Regions from separate parts of the Homo sapiens genome. Here region 1 is linked to region 2. Evidence: promoter capture Hi-C in 16 types of primary human blood cells and fetal thymus (Javierre and others, 2016). All regions are on one chromosome and are shown on one strand. The core of a region is centred on a gene start or on the middle of the fragment in contact, and the rest is flanking DNA. Distances in the headings are between cores, read along the strand shown.

Region 1 (7,473 bases), core at 4,619-7,118, 40 kb before region 2:
CCCAGCAGGGCCTGACGGGCTCAGGTCACAGCCCACCCACAGCCGGGATGCCCTGGCTGATCTCAGGGAGACACATCAAGGAGCTGGCAGGGTGGCCTGAGGACCGGCAAGCAGCCCCTGTTCATCCTGCCTCCCCCACAAGCCCTCCCAGCTCCAGAATGGCCCCTAAGCCTGCTGGTCAGTGGCTCAAACACATCAAAACCGAAATCACGGGGGAGAGAGGCCCAGGAGCGCTGCCCGCCCAGCAGCCATGTGCACCTCCAGAGCCCGACAGCTACAGCGATACCCAGTCCAGACACACAGGGGTGAAGGGCCCGAGGAATCCTGGGGTGGAAGAGCCACCATCCAGCAGCACCCCTGCCCCTCCTTCAGGGCCCGCACCCTGCAGCGCCACAGCCCTGCACTCCCCAATCTCCGGGTGAAACCTTCTATTTCCCTAGGACATGGCCTCAGGGAGCCTCGCAGGGTGAGACCTGGTCAGTCTATGTGCTCCAAGTGTGTATGATGGTGCGTCTCGGCTCCGCAGGGCCCAGGGGCCATCTGTGCTGTTCCCAGCAAAGCGCCTCTGTCCACAGACAAGGCCCGGTGTCCTGCCTGGAGGAGGGAGGTGTGGCTTGAGGCAGGTCCACGGACACGAGCCCAGCCCAGACGGGCACACGCCCATGGGTGCTCCCAGCCGCCACTCCCACGTCTGGCCTGGGCAGGGCCTGGGCAAGGAACAGCCACCAACGTCACAGACAAAGAAAGCAAGCAGCCGTCCCGCCCAGCAGCTCCTCAGAGAAGAGGAGTGTCTCTGAAACCACATCTCGTTCCTCTTAGAACCGGCACTGACACAGAGACCCTGCACTCCGGAGCTGTTCAGACACAGCAGGGCACAAACCTGGGAGGCTTCAGAAATGGCTGCCACCCTCAGCACTGGACAGTGCAGACAGTGGCCGCTCCTTCCCGGGAGAACCCAGCTGGGTCACAGCCCCAGGTCCTCGGAGAAACGGGCAGGGACCTGCCATGGCCAACACCACCCTCGGTCACTGGACACCTGCTGGGTGTGGCCCAGGGGCACCACGGTGTCTGCGGGGAAGCAGGGCCCATTGCTCAGGCAGCGAGGAAGGACCAGGCCCCACATGAGAGCTGCCAGGGCGCCGCCTCCCCACGGGGTGATTGCTGCTGCAGATGGCCGCTTCTCATGTGGTCTCCAGGTGACGTGTCCACTCCTCCTGTCCCACCTGCACCAAATGTGGGTTTTCTGAGGCTGGGATAGAGCATGTTCCAGTGGGCGTGCAGACCCCTCTCTACCTAGGAAAGCCTCCTGGGAGGCCCTTCTGCGCTATTAGGAGAGGTCACTAGCAACGGCCGTGCCAGAGCCCACGCGTCATCTTAAATTTTCCCAAAGCACCAAGAAGCCAAAGCTCTGAAATTACTAATAGAAGATTTTGGAGGCTGAGGATCTGGGCTTGGGGACACTCATGCGCCTCGTATTTCCTGTCTCAGCTGCACACCCCCACTCCAATGGCCAGGCCTGTCAGGAGACCCAGGCCACATTTTTGCCAGTTTTTCCAGGCAGTGGAGCTGTGGAACAGGTAGTTAGAAATCAGTGTCGCAGACCTGCCAGAGGCCACACGCCTTCCCCGTGCCAGTAAATCTCCACAAAATTCCACCCATTTTCTCAAATATTGTCATTACTGTTTTTAAGCAGTGACTGGCTGGGCCGACCTCATTCCACGTTGGTCTCCTGACACAGCGAATCTGCCCCGTGAACACCTTCCCAGCAGCACCGAGCATCTGTCCCCATCGCTCAAAACAGAGCCCGTGGGCTTTGCTTTAGGGGAGAAATAAATGGTGAATCCTCGTTCATCATAAAAGCTGACACGGGGAAGGCTCGGGCTTCAACACTGCACTTCTGAGAGTTCTTGCTCCTGGGAAAACAGACACAGCCCGACGGCAACCATGTGTGCTCTCCCAGCTGCATGGGCTGCGGGAACAACGGCGTATGTGGAACTAGGAAATTCCCTGTGCGTTTATGCGCTTAGCAGTCCAGGGAAGTGACGGTCATTCGCCCTGAAATTGTGCTGAAAGAGGAGAGGGCTGTTGTCTAGGTTCCAAGGCAGACTCATAAAAAATTAATCCGTGCCTCCTGCAGGCCTCCGGCATTTGGCAGCAGCGGTGCCGTGGCGTGTGGTTTTGTGGTCAGACCTGCACTTTAGTTTCCACCCCACGGCGTCCTCCCCGTGCGTGGGCCTCTGCGTGGCTCCTGGGGCGGGGCCGGAGCGGCTGCTGTTTGAGGTTCTGCAATAGCACAGCTCCTGGTGGGGCCTCGGAGCTCTGATCAGATAACAATGTGTCCCAGCGACGTCCCTCCCCGGCTTTCCAGTTTAACAGCCCTGCCTGGCAGGGGACATGGAGAACCAGGAGCTCCTGTGTGTGGCAAACCACTTAAGAAAGCGTGGATGAGGCCCTGCGTGGAACAGTGCGTGCTGTGGTAATCTGTCCACGGTATTCACGGGCTCTCAGGAACCTGCTCCTCACGGTACTGAACACTCCCCGAGCCCCTGCCAGCTGAAGGTACCACACAAAGTGAGAATTAGTCAGAACCACTGGCCCGACGCGCATTTTAACAACCGGAAAAGAAGAGCTGCCTCACGGGAGGCTCCACTCCTTGGTCTTCAGCTGTCAAGTTTCTTACATGACAGAAAAAACGTCTGTTACGGATCTGTGGAGGCAAAGTTGACCTACAAGCTGGGCAATGGAAGGAGAGGCCCACCAAGGCCACTGTGGGCACCAGCGGGCCCGCCCCACCCTGCGTCCTGAGCTTGGGGTATGGCCAGGAGCCCTCCCTGGGGCCAGTCTGGCCTCCTGACTCTGAGTCTTCGCCTGACCCGCCCGCCCCTCTCACCCGCGCGGCTGAGGCAGGATCCCAGACCACCCGCCCTCACCTCTTTGCAGACTCAGTTGGCCCTTCTCCTAACTGACAATATTATAAGCTGCAAACCTAAAATGCTGTTTCAGAACGGGCCGAGGCTTCTCGTTTCACATTCCAGTGACCTATTAATTATTCACACGAGCCCGGCCTCCCGTGTGATGGGTGAGATGCTATCGGGCAGGTTATTTTGGTGACTTGGTAAACAGACCTGAGTTATTTGACCCCTGGGTCAGAGGTCAGGCTATATCCCACAGAGGTCCACGTGCCCCCGTGGGATGGTGGGTGCCATGGAGGTGGAGGCCGAGGGCCGGGGACGTGCTGCAAAGACATCTTCTCAAGGCCCTGGGCCCTTCCCGGCCACCTCCGGGAGAGTGTAGCTGCCACGAGCAGTGGAGGACGCAGGCCAAGGACGGGTTGACTCATGTGAGGAACACATCTGGCGAGGGGGCTGCAGTCCACGGCAAAGAGAGCAGGAGGGAAGGAAGGAGGCACAACCAGAAACAGAGAGGAGGAAAGCAAGGCAGAGTGACCAGGGCGGGCACTGCTCACGCCGCTCAGCTCCTCCTCGGACGGAGCGGGGAGCCGGACTCCAGGTCTCCTCCGGGACCACAGTCCCCCAGATGGAGAACACGCAGGTGGAGGACCAGCCTCCACCTTCACGCCCAGAAAGGCAATGAGTTGCACGAAAAGGCCTCAATGGCTGTGCCCGGGTGCTTCTCCACCCTCCCTGGCCAGAGAAGGGGAAGAACACTGCCTGTCTCACCCCAGACCATCCTGATGCCGGCTGCCTACATACCGAGGTGAGCAGCGCTGAGGGCAGAGGCTGTGTGCGGATGAGGAGGTGAGACAAGGAGAAAAGCCAGCAGCCACCCAGAGCACTCGCGAACTCCTGGTTCCAGCTCCGTTGAGAGCAGAGCAGGCCCTCCAGGGTGAGGAGACTGTGTGTACAGAGAGACCCTCCCCCTCAGGCAGAGCCTGCCGTCAGGGCAGAGGGTGGAGGGCAGAGGGTGGCGGCTGCCCGAGGTGCCACCATCAGGACACTCAGTGTGAGCTGGGATTTGGGGGAAAGCTGAGGCCAGAGGGAAACATCCGCCACGCATCACTTTCATGCCTCACTGGAAATGCTGGTGAGAAGCAGACAGCAGGCGGACGCCCCCTCAGCCTCCCCTGCAACCAGCGGCCTGGCGAGGTCCCGGCATCGGCAGATCCAGACCGGCCCACCGAGAACTGGTGGCCAAGGTGCTGGAGCAGGGGCAGGAGGAGCCGGTGACAAGGGGGCTGTGTGGGCAGGAGCTGAGGCTGGCTGCGCTGCTGGTCACTCCCTGCCTGGCCAGAAGCCTCTGGGAGGCTCTGTCTGAGTCACTTGTTCTACCAGGGCAAGGTGAGTCCTAAGCAGGCGTCTTCATCTTTGGTTTCCCAGGAGCAGTGAGGCCCACGCCAGACCCCTCTCTCCACTATCCCCTCACACGCACAGGGGGCGGGACTGTCCTTACCCGCAGGCCCCACCCTGCAGAGGGGGCGCACCCATCACCATGGCCGAGGTCCCGCCAGACCCCGCAGGGACCACGTCCACCAGGGGCTGCCGGCCATCCTGAACCACCCAGACCCCCTCGCAGACGGCTCCAGGGCCCCGCTCTTCCAGGCTAAACCACGGCCCTGTTGCTTTGATGCTGGTGTTTTTAGCGCCGTGGCAGCCGTAATGGGGGTGGCCTCAGGGTGCGGACGGTGTGATCATGGCAATGTGGCCAGAAGAATAGGGGCTGGCCTGGGGTGGTCTCTCCCCGGCGTGGGAACAATGACATCCCCACAGAGACGGCAGGGGGCACGCTCAGTGCTCACTGGAGGGGGCTGGCCTCCTTCCCTCTGAAGGAAAGGCCCTAAATGGGAGAAGCCCCGGATGCCGGACCCCCTCACGCCCCTCAGCGCCCACAGGTACCCGGATGCCGGACCCCCTCACGCCCCTCAGCACCCACAAGTAAGAGCGAGCACCTATCCAGAGGAGCAAACACCCTTTCCTAACCCAGAGTCCATGCTCCGAATGCTTCCTGGAGAGAAGGTGCTGCGTTCTGCTCACGTGCTTCACTTCCCAACTGCGAAACACATGGGGATGGGGAGGACGGAGACAGCGGGCGTGGGAGGACGCGGACGCCGGGTGCGGGAGGACGGGGATACCGGGCGCGGGGGCACAGCGTGCCCCTGGCCGCGAGAGCTGACACCCACATCCCCCGGCCCCCCGCCACCCTCCAGGGCTCAGCTGCACTGCAGGAGACAGCGGGCTTTAATTTTCTGGACAAGCTTTTTGAGATGCAGCGGACAGACGATTCACAACGAAGAGAACAGCATTTCTCAAATGCAGGAAACTCCCGCGCCAGTTGTTCCCAACGGCTCCCAGTGGCTCTGACCAGCCGCCCGCAGCGCCCACTACCCACGGCCTCGTCCTCGCGCCCCCAGGCCAGTGCGATGAGCCTCGTTTCTGAAAAGCGGGAAAGGGGCCGCGTCAAAGGATGTACTAAAATAACCCGACGGCACCGAGGGCACGTCTGCGGTTACGAGGAGCTTCCACGGCAACTGAGAGCTTTCTATTCTCGTTTGTTTTTAAATTATGCACAAATTCTATTTTTATCCAATTTGTGGTCCACCAACTGAAAGAGAAAACTAACCCCCAAAACCCCCTCTTTTTAGCTGCTTTTACCTCACACTTGCAGAGACAGAAATCCACTCTGCCACAGATACATCACAAAACTCTTTAAATTACTAATTTCTACAAATGAGATATGCTGACAGCTCCTGACATTCTCCGTGCAGGGGACCGTTTTCTCCCGCGTTTCAATGGAAAGGGCTCCTTCTGTGGAAACGCAGAGCCAGCCTCTCCCGTGTCGCTGCTGCGCACACACGGGCCACTTGATTTGGAATAATTGTTGAGGGTACATTTTAAAGATATTTTTAATTACTGTTTCAAGTTTCCTGAGTCCTCCAGAACACCTGGATCCTCTCAGTGGCATCTGTATTGATAGATTTCTGCACCCTCAGCCCAAGACACCCAGATGGCAGAACCAGAGACGGGATTCCAGAAGATTCCAGAAGACGCAGGGAGAGTACCCAAGCACTGAGCTGTGTCCGCAGAGACGGGCGGCACCAGGCACCGGCGCTACTCACAGGCAGGTGAAAATACATCCATTAAAACCCAGGGCTGCCTGTAGTCCCAGCTACTCGGGAGGCTGAGGCAGGAGAATCACTTGAACCCAGGAGACAGAGGTTGCAGTGAGCTGAGATCACACCACTGCACTCCAGCCCGGGTGAGAGCGAGACTCCGTCTCAAAAAAAAAAAAAAAACAAACAAACCAAAAAACAAAACAAACAGAAACCTCAGAGCTCTCTCCACACTCATGGTCCTGCTTTACCCTCCAAGTAACAGCCTCGATTCCTACACCCGCCCCTCATCCAGATACAGTGAAAAGGGCGACGTCAGTGCCCCTCACCGACATAATTTACAGCAAATAGGGTGGACTGGGCCATTATTTCTCTATTGCTTTATTTCCACTCCTCCTTTCACAGCCTCGTTTCTTGTCCTATCTAATATCCTTCCCACTGAGCAATAACAAGCTTTCGGTCAGTAAAAACCGAGGCAGGGATGGGGAGGTGCAGGCCTGCAGTGACGGAGCGTGGTGCAGCGCTGTCTGACCTTTCCCACCTGGGAGGGTGGAGACTTTAAATGTCAAACGGGCCACTGTGCGCTCAGGTGTCTCCCGCATTTCCTTGCTTCAAGCACCAACGAGGGAGGTACTAATTGGCATCAAGCACACAGGCCACAAACATCACATTAACATCATCTGCAAGTGCTGGCGAAAACGCCTCACCCCAGCGCCCTGCCCGCTAATTCCCTGCCGCCGGCTGCTGCGTTGGCAAACAGCCATTTGTCCCTGCGGCCACCTTCTCTCCACTATTTATCTAAATGGAAGAAAATAAAAATACGAGGCACTCTGCTGAACACCCCTTCCGGCTTGCATCATTCCCTAAATAACGGGGCTGGGGCACCCGGTTTTTTGCTGTTGGGGTGTGCTCGGAAAACATCCTCTGTGCTGCCGCGTAGCCTGGAGCCCTGGGGCTGGACACACTTGCTGCTCTGTGGCTGCCAAAGCAGCAGATCTAGGGCCTGGGGCCTATAGCTGACGAGGTAACAGGTGGAACGAAGAAAATGCCAACACCCACGGCTACCCGGGATCCACATCAACACCTGGGGTGCAGAGGGAGCATGGCTCTGTGCAGACGCTGCCCGTCCCTGGCGCGGTCATTACACCCCTCCCTCGACAGCCTAACTCCACGTGGCTTTCCCGCAAGGTGTGAGGAAGGTGAGGAAGCCACACCACAGCCCGGGGGAGTCAGGCCCACCCCAGCAGGGACGCGGCTGCAGGGTTGCCAGGCCCAGGCCTACCCCGGCAGGGATGTGGCTGCCAGGCCCAGGCCCGCTCTGGAAGCCACTCCTCCTCTCCTCGGGGAGCACCTTGAGCCCTGGTGCCCCCCAGCACCCAAGCCCAGAGTATGGGATCCTGCAAGCC
Region 2 (6,609 bases), core at 1,813-4,312:
GAGTTCAAGCGATTCTCCTGCCTCAGCCTCCAGAGTAGCTGGGACTACAGGCACCCGCCACCACTCTCAGCTAATTTTTGTAGTTTTAGTAGAGACGGGGTTTCACCATGTTGACCAGGATGGTCTCGATCTCTTGACCTCGTGATCCGCTTGCCTCGGCCTCCCAAAGTGCTGGGATTACAGGCGTGAGCCGCGGCGCCCGGCCTGTACATTGTTTTTAAAACTCCAGCCACCTTTTTACCCCCACCATAAAATTATACACAAATGACAGCCCTTATCATCTGTTTAGACTAAAACTTTTTGCTAAACTGTCCCGCCTGCTGGTGGCCCCAGGCCGCGGGCCCTGCAGGGATGGAGGCTCACTGCTGCTGTCCTAGGACTGCACTGGTCTCCATCCCAGAGAAGGGGTCGGTGGGGCGGCTCCCCTGCTGCTCCTAGGAGCCCCCCCTTCCCCCGCCCCAGTGCTGGGCTTCCTTCCTGCAAATGGTTCAGAGCTATTGGTCCAGATTCAAAGCTGCCCGTTCCACAGACACTGGGTGTCTCCATGGAAATGTTTAGCTTGGACGCATCCTCCCAGAGGCTGGGGATGTCTGCGGAGACAGAAGCCCCGCTGGGTGTGATGAAGCGGGGTGCCAGCGCCCTGCCATTTTCTAATCTGAGCTGGGAAACAACGCTGTGAAGTTAAGTGGCAGAGAACAGGGTGAGCTTTGTTTGGCCCCAGCCCGTGGGGCATTGTGTCTGGAGCGACTTCTGACTGGGTGGCTACTTACAGGCCTGTACTTCTCTGCGTTCTCCATGAGGAAGCAAGCCCGGGGCCTTCAGGAACCACGACGCCTAATGAGCTTCCACCCAGATGGTCCCGAAACCCGAGGGACGCAGGGGAGGCGCCCAGGTCCTCAGATGGGCCAGGAATGGCCTCGTGGGGCCTACTCAGAAGGACTCAGAGTTCTTCCCGGTGGTCTCAGCGATGGCTGGTGTGGAAACCACGCGTGTCCCCATGCTGCCGGCCTGTGTGTATCAAGGACTAGATCACACTTTCCGGCTGGCCCAGTTCTGCAGCCCTCATAAAATACACCCATGTCGGTCGGGCGTCGCTGCCCGGCGCACTGCCTTGCAGCAGGGACCTTTTCGAGCTTATTTTCTTCAGTAGGAAACACGAAAACTAGCCACTGCCCCGTCGTGTTTTTTCCTTGCGTAAAAGAAAGGGGCTCCTTACTACAGGTCGGCCACCGGCTCTTCAGGTACAGAGATCTGAACTTGGAAAGACCTGCCTTTCTAAAGGGAGTGATAATGAACACTGCGGCGTAAGTGTCCCAGGATTTAAAACCGAAACTCCAACAAAAAAAAATTTTTTAAACTCTGCTACTAGCAAGAGCACATTGTGTAAAACACTGACACGGGACATGGTTTAAACATGTCAACATTTTCTAACATTGGGATGAAGTGGTGTCTACCTCCCGTCCCGTGAAGCGTCAGGGCACCGACCACACGGACCCCCCTCCGTGGAGCTCACGGCCCTGTGCTCAGCTCTGCTAAGACCAGCGAGTTTTCCAGAGCTGGGGGAGCCCGGTTCTCAAGCAAGCCCCGCAGTTATCAGGGTCGCGCAGGAAGCGGCAGCGCTCGGAAGGACGTCTGCCCTTATGAAGTACATATGTTGGCAGGTGTGCTGGCGCTCTTTAAATAAATTATATAAAATATTTCAGAGCTGGTAAGGAATTTGGAAAAGCGTCTTCCAATTTCCATTAGCATTGCAATCCCTAATCCCTAACTCGTATGCTCACACCTCTGCAAGGGTATTTTCAAAGCCACTTGCAGGAGCCCACCCGGCATCGCCAGGGGTGTGTGCCGGGGACGGGCTAAGGTGGGGGACTGGAATGTGAGATGCGCCGCAGGGGGGTCTCAGCGCCCCCCACACCGGGTTTCAGGGACCCACACTGTGCCATCTTTTTTTCACTATAAAGAAGCAGCTCGAAACTTGGCGGTTCCTTTTCAAACTTGCCTGAAACATCTTCTCTGGCTGGAACTCCTGCCTATAGGATTTCAAAATGGCTTAAATTCGGGGCTGTGCTGCGGCCGCGCTTTGGATCTTTTGGTCCTGCAGGTCCAGGAGCCGGCGTGACGGGCTCGGCCCTGGGGAATTCAGGGGCGCGGCGCGAGGGAGACGCCGCCACGAGCTCGGGGTGGGGGTGGGGGGCGCAGAACCCCCAAACCGCGATCTTGGCGCCAGAGGGTGGCTCTGCCTCGCTCAGGAAGACACGGGGCATCCTTCACTCCCAAGGAAGCCTCCCTTCCTCCCTCCCACGTGCCCTCTGTGGTCCTGACGGCCCAGCCTCGCCCGTCCCCAAATCGCCGGCCTGCGAGCCGCTTCCTCGGCGGGACCCGCGGCGGCCTCGCCTCGCGCCCTCAGCGCTGGGGCAGAGGAGACACCTATTGGCAGAAGGCGCGCTCGGAACCGGGCTGCTGGGAGCTGGGGGACGCCGTTCCCGGTCCGCGCCGCGCCCCTCCCTGGGCGCACAGACCCGGCCGACCTCGTTCTCTGGCCCGGACCCCTCCGTGCGGGCGACGGGGGCGGGGTCGGGGGGCGCGGCCCGGGCCGTGGGGGGCGCAGGGGTCCGGGGGCGGAGGCCGCGCGGGGCTTACCTTCCTCCGCTGACTTCATGGTGCCGCCGGCGCGCGGCGCGGGCCCCAAAGTTTCTCCTCTCCCGAAGACCGCAGCCGCAGGGCCAAGTGGAAACTTGGAAGGGACTGGAAAGCTGGTGCTTGGCATCCGCGCGGCGGCGGCGGGGAGTGGAGCGGCGGGCGGAGGCACAGGAGAAGCGGCCGCCCCGCGCTGCCGGGGTCGGGTCTCCGGGAAGACAGCCCTCGCCCCGGGCTCAGCGCCGCGCGCCCCGGAGGAAAGTCATCGAGGGGCGTGTGCGCGCGTGGCGGGGCCCGGCCGCGGCCCTAGGACCTGCGCGGTGGCTCCGAGCCCTGCCCGCGCCCCGGTGCCCGCGCCCTGCTGCTGGGATCTGGCGCGGCGACTCCGCCGGCGAGTTCGGAGCCTCTGAGTCTCGCTCTGACGCAGGGCCGCGCTCTGCCTCCTGCCTTTTTAAAGCTGGAAAACACCTCCCCCGCCTCCCCGCCGGCCCGGCGGCTCCCGCGCCCCCTCCCTGCCGTGACATCACGCCCCTGCTGCCCGGGCCCGCGCGGGGCCCCGGGGACGAGTCGCCGAGCGCCCGCCCCTCCCCGCGCCGCGGCAGCCGCTCGCCTGGGGGCAGGGGCGCAAGAGGCGGGGCGCGCACGGGGAGGGGGGGCGCACGGGGAGGGGGGGGCGCACGGGGAGGGGGGGCGCCCGGGGAGGGGGGCGCCCGGGGAGGGGGGGCGCACGGGGAGGGGGGCGCACGGGGAGGGGGGGCGCACGGGGAGGGGGGCGCACGGGGAGGGGCGCACGGGGAGGGGATGGGGGCGTAGGGGCGGGAACGGGGAATCCGGGGGCCGGGCAGGGGGGCGCTGGGGCTGGCGGGGGAAACGGGGGCGAACGGGCCAGACGGGACGCCTGAGTCCACGCGGGTGTCCGGAGGGAGCCCGGCCCTGCTGGAAAAGGGGCGGGGGGCGGGGGCCGGGGGCCGGGGAGGGGTGTCGAGAAAGCCCGGCATGCTGAAGTCATTATGTAAAATCGCAGGCTTCCCCCGCTGTGGAAATTTGGAAAAGCGCTTCACTGGCAGGCCCTAGAAAGGAAATTCCCATCCCGCTAAATTACTAACAGATTGCGTGGCCGTCCCGGGACGTCGAGTTATTGTCATTTTTATTCTGTAAATATCTGCTCGACCTAGACGGCCTGTGGCAGGGGCCGGCGTGGGGAGGCCCGGGGACGCGCTCACCTGCCCTAGCCGCCCGGAGGGGGCGTTTTATGGGCGCGACTGCGCGACTTCTGACGGGGGGAGGCCCCCCGGCCACTCACACTTTCCTCTCTTACGTCTCCCTGCGTCTCTTCGGGCGCAGCTCAGCTGCCAACACGGCACCGCATTTTCTTGTTGGCTTTGGATGGGGGGGGTTGGAGGTTAAAGTGTCTGGTGTGTAGAAACCATAAATCGATTGCACGACACCCTTATGTGATTTAAACTAAACCCAAAGGCTAAACTCGTGTCTGCTGCGGGGCCCAGGAGGTCCGCAGACCCCCAGGGATCACTGTGCCCCGTGGGTGCCCCCCACAAGCGCCTCCTCCCTGCCGGGGGAGGCGGTCGGGCGCTGCAGAGCCCGCGAAGGTGCGCGGCCAGAGCCCGTCCGTCCCGCGTCCCGAGGCCTGGCTCCATTCGGCCGCCCCGACTCAGCACAAATGGAACCCCGGCTTTTCCACCGCAGGCCTCGGCCTGGAGAGACGTGCCCGGATTAGCGGGGTGGTGGCCGCCTCGCTCCTGCGGCGTCGAGGCCATTTCCAGGGGTCTCTACCTGCGGGGGCCCCTACGGCGCCGAGCCAGGCGTGGCACGCGCCCCAGAGCACCGGGCGCCGGGAGGGGAGGAGGGGCCGCGGGAGGACGCCCAGGCCGGTGGGCGGGGGTCGGGGGGTCAGGGGGACTCCAGCGAGGCCGCGCCCCCACGCCCCTCCCCCTCCCCTCCCCTCCAAATCTTCCCGCCGCGAGTGTCCCCAGGCCTGGGGCCAGGATTTGGCGGGGAGAGTTTCCGTCCCCCCCGCCCCGCCCTCCTTCTCCCCACCTCCAGGACGGGGCGGGCGGAGACTCGCCGGGAGGAGGGAATCCCGAGGCCGGGTCTGGCGGGGCGCGCCCAGCCGGTCACGTGGGAGACTGAGCCCCTCGACCCCAGCCGCGGTCCTCGAGCCCGGGACCGACCTGGCGAGGCTGCCCTTGGCTCCTGAGGAGCCGGGGCCGGGGCGGGGGCGGCCGGCTCTTCCTCCTCCTCCCGCCCCTCCCCTTCCTCCGCTGCCGCCTCCTCCTCCTTCAATAAATAATTTTTTCACCCCATGCAGAAAAGCTCCCTTTTCCTGTCTGCTCTCAAAGCCGTCCTTATCCCCCCGCCCGGGTGACGGAATCCCGGGTCTGTTTCCCTCTGTTTAATGCCGTTGCCGGGACCACGGTGGCCGCGCGCCAGGCGCAGGGAGTTCCGGAGGCGGCGGCCCAGAGCGCGGCCAGCTCGCCCGGCCTCTGCGCCCCGGCCCGGCCTCTGCGGCCACCGCGGGCCCCCGGCTCTGCTCCCCGAGCGCCCTGCGCCCCTTTCCTCTTCCTCCTGCCTCCTCGTAGGTTTGTTTATAGCCGCTACTAGGGGAGACGTTACACGGGTTTTATTTTAGGATTGGTGATGACTAACAAAGTTAAAAGGAGCTTAGGACAGAAAACAAGACTATTTTTAGATGACTGTTGTTTCTATGGATTATTGGGGGCAAAGACACCCCTAGAAGCTTACCGTTTTAAAAGCCCCTTGGGGTGCCAAATCCCTTCTCCTGGAGCGCACTTGGGTGTTCATCCACCCCGTCCAATATTTTCTAGAGCCTGGGCGGTCACTGTTGCTGGGGCTTCCTGGCGTCATGTGTGAGCACCAGGGCTATGAGACGCCATCCTGGCAGATGCGGGCGTCTCCAGCGCGGGCCGGGCCGGAGCTGCCCCGAAGCTCAACGCTCCATCCCGTCCCGTCTTCGGAGGGTGGGTGCCACCTGCCCCGCGTGGGGCTTTCCATCCTCAGGGGCGCTCGGCACACGCGGTGCCGCGTGGGGCTACCTGGCAGGTGCGCCAGCCAGGGGCAGGTGCGCCCACCCTTTCCTCCCCCTACTGAACCGCAGGCCAGATGCCACTTCCTGCTCGGGAAAATCACTTAATACGACTGTGTTCTGTTCCTGCGAATGTTCTGTTCCTGCAGTTTTGCATTCTGGCCCACAGCGGTGGTCACTTGAGAGCTTTTCCCATCAGGGGTCTTTGAGGTTTTGACTCAACTCAGAATCCACCCCCTTCTTCCTGAGGCACCTTCCAACCAACAGGGAAGGGCCCCCACGATGTCCAGAGACTCTTGAGACCATCTGGAGAAATGGGCATTTATTTAGCCAGGGTCTGGAGACTAGGATTAAATTAGCAAACCAGAATTATAGAAAAAGCTATTTACTTTTAAGTAAACTGAGATTTTTTTTTTTAAGTCAGTGTGAATGAACCTCACAGCCATGGTTGGAGCTGAGAAAGAAGGATTTCCCTTTAGTTATACACCCGTGTCAGCACCTTCTGACTTTCCTTCTAAAGTCTGGGGTGTTCCTGAGGACCCATACATTTGGGGTTCAGAGTTTCTATACCATGCTGTTACTTATGAAACATCTCTTTAACCACGCCCCTTCCCTGGAGGGTTGCTAAGGGCTTCATAGGTTTCCCTGTCTAAACTCTTAGCATGAACACCCACCTCATGGACTACCACCATGTCTAAAAACTCAGATCACCAATGGATCAGTCAACTTTCCTACCCTAGACGTGTGTCCAGGGCATTAGGATCAAGGCCAAACTGCTCAGCACGGCACCTGATACCCTTCAGCCCCACGTCCCCTCCCGGAGTGGCCAGGCAGGAACCTCCCCACCTAAAAGCCACTCGCAGTCATTCTCACCCACTCCAGGACTTTGGAGTCATCTCTCCCCAACGCCA

What was found. The method cuts DNA at HindIII sites, captures the fragments that hold promoters and counts their contacts. A CHiCAGO score of 5 or more calls a contact.
Region 1: a fragment that was not itself captured here is called in contact with the fragment with the promoter of NFATC1 in region 2 in 1 of 17 cell types (non-activated CD4 T cells); the score reaches 5.4 in non-activated CD4 T cells.

The regions. Positions count from the first base shown.
Region 1 is chr18:79,434,130-79,441,602 of GRCh38, reverse strand. The region is part of intron 3 of NFATC1 (nuclear factor of activated T cells 1); the gene reads right to left. It overlaps LOC124904334 (a long non-coding RNA gene), which reads right to left. Exons shown (of 2, transcript XR_007066426.1): 1 at 1-7,473. Among named protein-coding and RNA genes, the nearest start is that of NFATC1, 42 kb to the right of the region's middle. The HindIII fragment of the contact is 1,308 bases long and covers 5,215-6,522 here.
Region 2 is chr18:79,392,383-79,398,991 of GRCh38, reverse strand. NFATC1 (nuclear factor of activated T cells 1) reads right to left here and starts at 3,062. Exons shown (of 10, transcript NM_001278669.2): 1 at 2,641-3,062. The coding sequence starts at 2,767. RefSeq lists silencers at 2,367-2,466, 2,827-3,226, 4,652-4,941 and enhancers at 2,123-2,670, 4,312-4,431, 5,136-5,660, 5,661-6,186. The HindIII fragment of the contact is 8,960 bases long and covers 1-5,394 here.